2 separate regions of the Homo sapiens genome follow, and region 1 is linked to region 2. Evidence: promoter capture Hi-C in 16 types of primary human blood cells and fetal thymus (Javierre and others, 2016). All regions are on one chromosome and are shown on one strand. Each heading gives the region's core, a stretch centred on a gene start or on the middle of the fragment in contact. The rest is flanking DNA. Distances are from core to core; before and after follow the strand shown.

Region 1 (5,096 bases), core at 2,408-4,907, about 17 Mb after region 2:
CGGTTACTTTTTCCATGAAGCTTTCTTCAACTATTCCAGGCAGAACTATATCCACAAAACTCTGCTTAATCCTTTATTATGGCATTTATTTCAAAACAGTAATCAACGGCAACCTACTTATCTATGTACTGAACTTAGTATTTGCTGAATAAATAAGTTATCTGAAGACATAAAATGAAAAATCAAATGCAAAAAGTATTCCTTACATTAATGATCTATTTGGGGGTAAAGTTAGGTGCTAGAAAACAGATGGAAATATTACAGACTTTTAAATATTCTTTGTCTGATTGCCCTAATGTTCTGACAATCAGAAGACCCAAGTTAAAATCATGTTTTCTTGATGACTCACTTGCTTCTTGAAAAAAAATTAGTTTATCCCCACGTCTCCATTTTTTGTTTTTTTTTTTTGATACGGCGTCTCCCTGTTACCCAGGCTGGAGTGCAGTGGCGTGATCTCAGCTCACTGCAAAATCTGTCTCCTGGATTCAAGCAATTCTCCTGCCTCAGCCTCCCAAGTAGCTAGAATTACAAGTGCTCGCCACTGCGCCCAGCTAATTTTTGTATTTTTCACACAGACAGGTTTTACCATGCTGGCCAGGCTGGCCTTGAAGCCATGTCTCCAATTAATGGAATAGAAATCTACTTTTAAAACATGTAAGTTGGACTGGATGTGGTGGCTCATGCCTGTAACCCCAGCACTTTGGGAGGCCGACTCGGCAGGAGGATCGCTTGAGGCCAGGAGTTCCAGACCAGCCTGGGCAACAAAGTGAGACACTGTCTCTACAAAAAATGGAAAAACAAAAACAAAAACAAACAAACAAAAAAAAAACTAGGTGGGCATGGTGGTGCATGCCTGTAATCCCAGCTACTTGGGTGGCTGAGATCGGAGGATCATTTGAGCCCTGGAGATCGAGTGGGCCACGATCACACCACTGCACTCCAGCCTGGGTGAGTGAAATCCTGACACTCAATAAAATAAAAATAAAAAGACAGCCGTGTGCAGTGGCTGTGGTGGCTCACACCAGCACTTTGGGAGGCTAAGACGAGTGGATCACGAGGTCAGGAGTTTGAGACCAGCCTGGCCAACGTGATGAAACCCCATCTTTACTAAAAAAAAAAAAATACAAAAAATTAACTGGGCGTAGTGGTATGTGCCTGTAATCCCAGCTACTTGGGAGGCTGAGGCAGGAGAATTGCTTGAACCTGGGAGGTGGAGGTTGCAGTGAGATGAGATCGTGCCACTGCACTCCAGCCTGGGCGACAGTGCGAGACTGTCTCAAAAAAAAAAGACATACATATTGGGAGAATAAATAAAACAAAAATGTGTATGCTGTGATGTGACACCAATATGTGAGAAAATAAACTAAGCTTACTGAGACAATTCCCAAAGCAGATAAAAGATCAGACCTTGGAAATAAACTTCAGCTGTATCCTAGCTCTGCCACTTACTAGCTGTGTGACTCAAGAAACTTAATCCCTCTAAGCCTCAGTTTTCTCAACTGTAAAACAAGGATAATACAAATAATCTCACCAGAGGAATGCTGTGAGAATTAAATGAGATAATGCAGATAAAGTGCTTACCAGGGCCTAGTGTATAAATGCTCAAAAACACATTAGCTATCATTGTTTTTCTCAAGCAATGGTATTTCAGAGGATAACATTGCCTGCTTCCCCAACCATCTTGTTATTTTGCCAAGAAAGCAGCTTAGTACTCACTGCCTCAAGTGTGCAGGAACAAGCTGTAATGGCAAAGTAGCATGGGCTCTTCAGAACTAACGAGGTTAGGCTGGGCGAGGTGGCTCACACCTGTAATCCCAGTATTTTGGGAGGCCGAGGCGGGTGGATCACCTGAGGTCAGGGGTTAAAGACCAGCCTGGCTAACACGGTGAAACTCCATCTCTACAAAAACACAAAACTCATCCAGGCATTATGGCAGGTGCCTGTAATCCCAGCTACTTGGGAGGCTGAGGTGGGAGAATCACTTGAACCTGGGAGGCAGAGGTTGCAGTGAGCCAAGATTTCAATATTGCACTCCAGCCTGAGTGCCCAGCAAGACTCTATCTCAAAAAAAAACTAATGAGGTTAGACCATTTACTCAAAATCACCAGTAGTTCTACTTTTCACTATCAACAAAAAAGAATTTAAAGGCAGAAGAGCATGCTTATCTCACACAATGGACATTGTATCAATCTCTTAATATACCTAATTTTTCAGCTTTAATTTGATAAGTTCTCAACTACTTAATTTTTTACAAGACCAAAGTGATTAACCCATAGTTATTTCTGTAATTCTATTAGCTACCTGTGAATCAACCACTCCAGACACTTCTGTGCTGGCTTAAGCAGGAAGTAAGGCGACAAGTGAATAAGGAATAATGAAATGTTTTCATCCAACTGTTTGTTTACTGCTTTGGTCTGAACACTTCGCTCCAAGGTTTTTGCTAGCTGACTGAACAACGGTGCTTCAAACTGCTCAAAGGAAGGATCAATTCCAAGCAACTCTTCCAGGCCAGTACATCCTAAATTTCAAAAAAGGCCAGTTTATTTAACAATTCTTCGTAAGCAAATTCATCCCACCCCTCTTTTACAGTTTTACTTACCCCTAAGAAGTTTCTGAATTCTTTAAGTACATATAATTTATAATACAGTCCCAAACACTGATTTCTAGTTTTCAACTTTTAGAGTAAATCCTATCTCATCTACTAGAACAGAAAGTACTTCGTGGCAGGGAACACTTTTTTTTTTTTTTTTTTGGATATCCCCTACAATAACTAGGCCAGTCCTCTGAGAGGACTTCTCCGTCACCCCAGTCACTGCCTCCATCCCCCTTTTAGCTGTTCTTCTCTTTGACATATTAGTTGACCTCTCTAATTTTGTTTCTTCATCTGTGAAATCCAGATACCTCTACTCATAAACATTTCAAGCACCAAGCACCTGACTGTTATGTTCTCTTTCCCTTAAAAATATACATCAACATGCTAGAAACTGCTAAGGAAGAGGACGGGACAGAAGAGAAAACAAGGGGAAAAAAAAAAAACAGTAACATCCAGAAAACAAACGCTTCCAAGAGCTTTTCTAAGTTAAAAGATGGCTCACCAATGGCGAAGGCGGTGTCCCTGTCGATTGTGGCCGCTTCCTTAGGGTCAAATAACAAAGAAGCAACTTCATCTCTAGATAAGAGGCTGGCATCACTTTGAGGGAGGGCGAGTCGTTGCAGCTGCTGGGCTAAGGACGTCATCTTTCACGCCAGCGGAGTTTTAATGACACGGGCTAAAAAAACGTAAGCACTTTGATAAGTTTCTACGAAATTATAAGGCGCCTCGTAAACAAACAATTCTCTTCTGCACTCAGCACCGTCATGGACACACAACGCGGGTGTCCTGAGATTTGTGGACCCCGGAGATGCAAAGACGATGGCAGCAGCGTTAACAACTAATTACAGTAGCGGCGACCGCGCCAAGGCTTTCCTTCAACCCTGATTCCGCAGATATCCGGAAAACTCTTACCCTCCCTCGATATGCCGCCCCCATCCGCAGCCACATCAAGCGGCTCTGTGCCGCTTACCTGGAACTGGGAATTTGGGTATATCTTGGAAGGCAACAACTCTTCACAGCGCTTCCCACATGGTACCAAGGAGCCCAACCCTCACCCGGAAACCTAAGGCATGCTGTAGAGCAACTTCCTGCTGCAGGCGCTACGGCAAGTGAAGAGGTTCAAGCTTGCCGGGAATGCGACGAGACAGCTCCGCCTCCCGAGACGAAAGCCCGCCCCTCAGCCCGCCGGACTCAGGCTCAAGTCTGAGCTTCGCCTCTGTAGCTCCGGTTTAGCGGTCTGCTCTGCGGCTTGTGTCTGAAGCTTTCGGTCTCTGGATGGGCCTTCTGTGGGCTTTAAGGATCCGTAGCCAGAATCATTCATTCAGTAGTGATCCAGCCTTTACTAGGTGCCAGCAGCACCGCGTAGTGTTGAAAGCTATGGGTTGTGAAGTCACGTGGTTTGGGTTCAAATCCTGGCGCTGGCGCCTGTCGGCCGGGTTAACGCCACCAAATTATTTCATCTCTCCGAGCTTGTTACTCACTCTACAAAGTGGGAAGAGGCCGAGATTGTCGTGAAAGGAGCTTCTGCTCCTAGTGCAAACCGATCTATAAATGCTGGACTCCACCGCCCCAGAGCTTGGGGGAGATCTTGTCACTCCTCTATGTTTCCATTCCCGAGGGGTAAATGGCATATATTTTTTTCTTTCAAAACGAATCATAGTCAGGCGCGGCCTGTAATCCGAGCACTTTGGGAAGCTCAGGCGAGCTGATCACCTGAGGTCAGGAGTTCGGGACCAGCCTGGCCAACATAGCGAAACCCCGTCTCTACTAAAAATAAAAGAATTAGCCGGACGTGGTGGCGGGCGCCTGTAATCCCAGCTACTAGGAAAGCTGAGACAGAAGAATCGCTGGAACCCGGGAGTCGGAGGTTGCAGTGGGCCAAGATTGCACCACTGCACTCCACAGAGCGAGACTGTCTCAATAAATAAATTAATCGAATCCTGTTGAGGTATAATTTACAAACAATGGTTACACCCACGTCAGTGGAAGAGTTTGATGACTTTTAGCAAATGCATGTATAGGTGTAATGACCTCCCCAGTCAAAATGACAGTTTCCATCGCCCCTAAAAATTGTCTCTTGCCTGTTTGCGAAGATTCCCGCAACCACTGGTCTTGGCCTCACTACAGATAGTGTTGCGGAAGAGTATCCTTATGTATGAATATAGCTAATCTGTTTCCAAAACACCGGTATGCGCTAGAACTAGGATGAACTGACGTCTTCCAGACGAAGGAGTGAGATCTGATGCTCTGTCTTTTCTGGATGCATTAATTTCTCTGAAGAGCTCTGCGGGGCCAGGGGGTCAAGTCTTTCTGTAACCGTCTTCCCTGGAGAATGTCAGAAACACAGCTACAAATTTGGAGGCCCTGGTTGTCTATACCTCATGCAGATTCTCTCCCATTTACAAACAGAATCTTTTGTTGTTGGTTTGCTTTAAAAGCATTTAAAACAACCAAATATTTTCTTCAGTTATTAGTATTTCTACTGACTGTTAATAATCTTCTT
Region 2 (5,135 bases), core at 1,526-4,025:
CAACTTAAACAGAGGATATTCTTCAAGTTAAGTGGCCTGTTATCTTCAGAAAGGTCAAAGCTATGAAAGCCAAGGGAAGACTAGGAAACCATTCCAGACTGAAAGAAACTGGAGAGAGGTGACAATCAGATGCAAACAAAGCATAATACGGGATTTTGATCTCAACACTATGGAGGGTCTGGTTGTAACAAATAATGATAGAACAAGGATGGGGTCTGTGCATTAGATGGAAGCATTGTATCCAAGTGTATTTCCTGATTTGGGTGCTTGTGTGAGATCACCTGGAGTTTCCAAGTTTGTTGGGGATGTACACTGGAGTTATGCTGAGATACTGAAGCCTCATATCTACAGTATGCTCTTGGGTGGTATGGGGGAAAAAGGTCTTTATTTTAAGTTTGAAATTAACATTAAATATATAACATGATGAATGCATACAAAATAGGAAAATTCTAGCAATGCAACTATTATTTTAAAATGTTTCATCTAATTATATTACTTAAAGATAAAATGTAATTGAATTAAACTGGGAATAATTAAATCAAAAATTAAAAAGGGAGAGGAGCAATTAGAAAAATGATATATTTGATAACTGGCATACAGTTCAAAATGACAAGAGTTTCACAGAATACTGGCAGAATTCTGAGTTCTGTAATACACTACAGAAACAGGCCACCTTCAGGGTGATTTTCTAAGTAACAAAAAATGTATCAGGAGGCTGGGCATGGTGGCTCACACCTGTGGTCCTGGCACTTTGGGAGGCCAAGGCGGGCGGACTGCTTGAGGTCAGGAGTTTGAGACCAGCCTGGCCAACATGGCAAAATGCTGTGTCTACTAAAAAATACAAAAATTAGGCGGGCATGGTGGTGCGCACCTCTAAGCGCAACTACTCGTGTGGCTGAGAACAAGAATTGCTTGATCCTGGGAGGCAGAGGTTGCAATGAGCTCGGTCTCCAAAAAAAAAAAAAAAAAAAAAAAAAAAAAAAACAGTATCAGGAGCTTTAACTATAGTCTCACTTAACTCTGGCAACCAATCCTATCTGGAAGACATTATTCTCCCTTTCTTAAAACAAGGAAACTATGGGAGAAGCTAAATAAGGAACTTGTCAAGGTTTCACAACTAGTAAGTGGCAGCCAGGATTGGACTCAGGTCTGCAGAAACCAAATGTCTTTGCTCTCAATCATGAAGGCACTCTAATGCCTTTCCAGCTCAGGAATCAAACCCATTCCTTTTAGAGTTCATTGATTTGTTGTGCGGTTAGTCCATTACTGCAACCAATATGCCAAAACATTACCATCTTTTAAATGTTTAAAATGGCTATTAAGTTGTGTTTTTGTTCAACAACCTTAAAACATCACCAAAGTTGAGAATATAATGAATAATTTCATCAGCCCCACGTGGTCAACTGTATATAAAGGTATGGGCTTCTTCAACATTAGAAAGTACTGTGTGTGTATTATCATACATATGCATTAACAAATATTAGGTCAGGCTGGGTACTGTGGCTCACGCCTGTAATCCTAGTACTTTGGGAGGCCAAGTCAGGATGGCTTGAGCCCAGGAGTTTGAGACCTGCCTGGGCAACACAGTGAAACGCCATCTTTCCAAAAAAGACACAAACACAAAATTAGCCAGGCATGGTGGCACGCGCCTGTAGTCCCAGCTACTAAGGAGGCTGAGGTGGGAGGATCATCTGAGCCCGGAAGTTCGATGCTGCAGTGAGCCTTGAAAGCGCCACTGCACTCCAGCCTGGACGATAGAGCAAGACCCTGACTCTCAAAAGAAAAAAAAAAATCGGCAAACTACTTAAATTCTTCTGTGTAATTTCCCAAAGTAATGAAAAAGCAGAAATTCTAAGCAATCTACCAACAATAATCTTGGTCATGTCGAAAAAATAATTCCAAACAGAACTTAAGATGTGTCAGTAAGGTGACAGATCCAATGTTTACTCTGAAATTTACTACACATCCACAGGGTGCAGTAAAAGCAACCGCATCAGTCTACAGTGTACCTGGGTGTTTTCCCCAATTACCCTACCACATTTAATTAAAAATAAATGCAGCCTCAGTTGAAATCCTAAATGCTAATATGCTCGTCTGGGTTATTTCTTCTGAACTCGATAAAACGTAAGGAAAATTTGACTCAAGTGAACTGAGGATTTCTCCTGAGAGGAGGGACAGGACAGGAAAGGAGGTAAGAAAAGGAGTTGGGGGAAAAATGCTAAAAGAGAAGCGACGACTATTGGATTTTAAGTTTTAAAATCTTATTTCCACGAGCAACTCTCGCTCTCCGGGGGAAAAAGGGAGAGGTGAGTTGACTGGGAGTTCATCCCTCTGAGAAAAAGATCCGAAGCGGAGTCTCGTGTTGTCTAGCCCGGGCTCACACTGCGCCTCCCTCCATGCCCGGGAAAACCATCTTCAGGAGCAGATGCACCTGCCGGGGACACGGGGCGAGGGGTGCGGAGCCTCCTCCACGTACAATTCTGGGGCGAGGGGCAGGTCCAACATCCCAGATGGTGACCACCACTGCGCAAAGCCGGGGCGCAGCGACCTTCCACGCCCTGCACCCTCCCTGGCTGATGCAACCCACACAGGTCATTGGTCTCGGCCCCTTACCTAGCGGAGGGTCTCCTGAATTCACGGTCAGAGAGAGCGTCGCCATCTCCACCAGTCCGCTGGTCCACCTGTCAGTACGCCTGGCTCGTGCCAGAACTACGGAGGACCCCGCGAAAGGAAGAAGATGCAACGTGTGCGCGTACCCGACGCCGCCGCAGCCTTCGCTCCGCCCCTGCGCCGCAGCTACTGCCGACACCGCGCACGCCGCGGTGCGACATCGTCGCGCGCCGTCTTCGTCCCCGCCCGCAGGTTCCAGAGCCTGCTACCCCTCCTCTTGGCCGCCAGGGTTAGAACGGCCTGCGTGGCCTTTCGTGCTGCGGTGGGAAAGACGCTGAAGTGGACGGGACTTTACGACACTTCGTCAAGTCAGCAGGTCGTAAAACAGCAGGTTGTAAAACCATCTTTAAGATGGGATAGGCGTTTATGTGAAGCACGAAACAAAAGCATGCACTGTCTTTATGTAAAAAGAAAAGTCCTGGAAGCATACACACGATAGCCATGATTACGTTGGGAATGGGAGAAGTTTTTCTCGTTGTTTATTTTATACATTCCCCCCCGTTTTTTTTTTTCCAAAACAAGAACGTATTTTCAAGAGTTATTTGCGTGTTGAAAATAATGGTTAAAGGAAATATAAAAGACTCTTTAAAAATCACTGCAGGCCGGGCGTGGTGGCTCACGCCTGTAATCTCAGCACTTTAGAAGGTGTAGGCGGGCGGATCACCTGAGGTCAGGAGTTCGAGACCAGTCTGGCCAGCATGGTGAAACCCCATCTCTACTAAAAATACAAAAATTAGCCTGGCATGGTGGTGGGCCCCTGTAATCCCAGCTACTTGGGAGGCTGAGGCAGGAGAATCGCTTGAACCTGGGAGGTGGAGGTTGCAGTGAGCCGAGATCGTGCTACTGCATCCAGCCTGGGCGACAGAGTGAGACTCCTTCTCGAAAAGAAAAAAAAAAAAAATCACAGCAGAGGCCGGGCGCGGTGGCTCAGGCCTGTAATCCCAGCACTTTGGGAGGCCGGAGGCGAGCGGATCTCGAGGTCAGGAGTTGGAGACCAGCTTCACCAACATGGTGAAACTGTAGAGACGGGGGTCTCTACTAAAAGTACAAAAATTAGCCGGGAATGGTAGCGCGCACCTTTAATCCTAGCTACTTGGGGAGCTGAGGCAGGAGAATCGCTTGAACCCGGGAGGAGGAGGTTGCGGTGAGCCGAGATCGCGGCACTGCACTCCAGCCTGGGCGACAGACTGAGACCCCGTTTCAAAACAAACAAAAAATCACTGCAGATAGGCGCAGTGGCGCGCTCCTGTAGTCTCAGCTATTAAGAAGGCTGAGGCAGGATCGCCTGAGCCCAGGAAGATGAGGCTGTAGTGGCCTCGCCGTGGACTTGCCTGTGAGTAGCCACTACCCTCCAGCCTGGCCGACACAGGGAGAGACCTGATCTAAAAAACAAAACAAAAAAACCCTCCGATGCCGCCCCCAATCATGGAGTCCACAGGTGTTTTTTTCAGCGTCTCATCTGATTCTCCCTTTCAAATCCTTTGTGACGGACGTGCATGCATGAGCTCCAGAGATACTCCAAGGTGTATACACACATTCGTGTGTGTGAGCTGCACCCATATTTCAAGGGCTGGTGTTAAAGTACGGGGACCCGGGATGGATTCCAAGAACCATCTCAACCACATCCTCGCCTACACTTTTTCTTAACCTCCCCAAGACATCCTTGTTTTCATTAGGGAGGGCCCCTTAGATTACATCTCCCATGAGACTTGAGGCCAGGCGCGGTGGCTCATGCCTGTAATCCCAGCACTTTGGGAAGCTGAGGCGGGCGGATCACCTAAGGTCGAGAGTTTGAGACCAGCCAAGCCAACATGGAGAAACCCCATCTCTAGTAAAAATACAAAAAAATAGCTGGGTGTGGTGGTGCATGCCTGTAATCCCAGCTACTCGGGAGGCTGACGCCAGAGAATCGCTTGAACCTGGGAGGCAGAGGTTTCGGTGAGCTGACATCACGCCATTGCACTCCAGCCTGGGTAACAGGAGCAAAACTTCATCTCAATAAAAAAAAAAAAAAAAAAAAAGAAGCCTACTTTCAGGATAGTGGGACTTATAGCAGAAAGTCTTAGGTCTTAGAGTTACCATCTTGTTGGATGCTTTTACTAGTTCCAATCATTTTTTAGTTATGTTGGATTTTCTAGGTAAATATCATTTTCTTCCTATCCAAAATTTACATGACCTATATCTTATCTCTTTCATTGGCTAGAACTTCCAGAATGATGTTAAATGGGAGCAATAATAGTGTCGAATAAGAGAGTATTTGCTTTGTTCCTGACTTTAGTGGGAATGCCGCTAATGTTGCATTATCAAGAATAGTGTCTGTGGCCGGGCACGGTGGCTCGCACCCGTAATCCCAGCACTTGGGAGGCCGAGGTGGGTGGATCACCTAAGTAGAGGACTTCGAGACCAGCCTGATCAACATGGTGAAACCCTGTCTCTACTAAAAATACAAAATTAGCTGGGCGTGG

The links. Contacts are between HindIII fragments. The CHiCAGO score rates a contact against its expected background, and 5 or more counts as called.
Region 1: the fragment with the promoter of HEATR1 here is called in contact with the fragment with the promoter of EPRS1 in region 2 in 3 of 17 cell types (naive CD4 T cells, total CD4 T cells and non-activated CD4 T cells); the score reaches 12.3 in naive CD4 T cells.

What each region holds. Positions count from the first base shown.
Region 1 is chr1:236,600,859-236,605,954 of GRCh38, forward strand. It overlaps HEATR1 (HEAT repeat containing 1), which reads right to left and starts at 3,658. Exons shown (of 45, transcript NM_018072.6): 1 at 3,564-3,658; 2 at 3,096-3,269; 3 at 2,302-2,518. The coding sequence starts at 3,237. RefSeq lists an enhancer at 3,599-3,858. The HindIII fragment of the contact is 2,349 bases long and covers 1,367-3,715 here.
Region 2 is chr1:220,043,730-220,048,864 of GRCh38, forward strand. It overlaps EPRS1 (glutamyl-prolyl-tRNA synthetase 1), which reads right to left and starts at 2,776. Exons shown (of 32, transcript NM_004446.3): 1 at 2,614-2,776. The coding sequence starts at 2,659. RefSeq lists enhancers at 1,929-2,486, 2,528-2,857, 2,918-2,987. The HindIII fragment of the contact is 10,455 bases long and covers 1-5,135 here.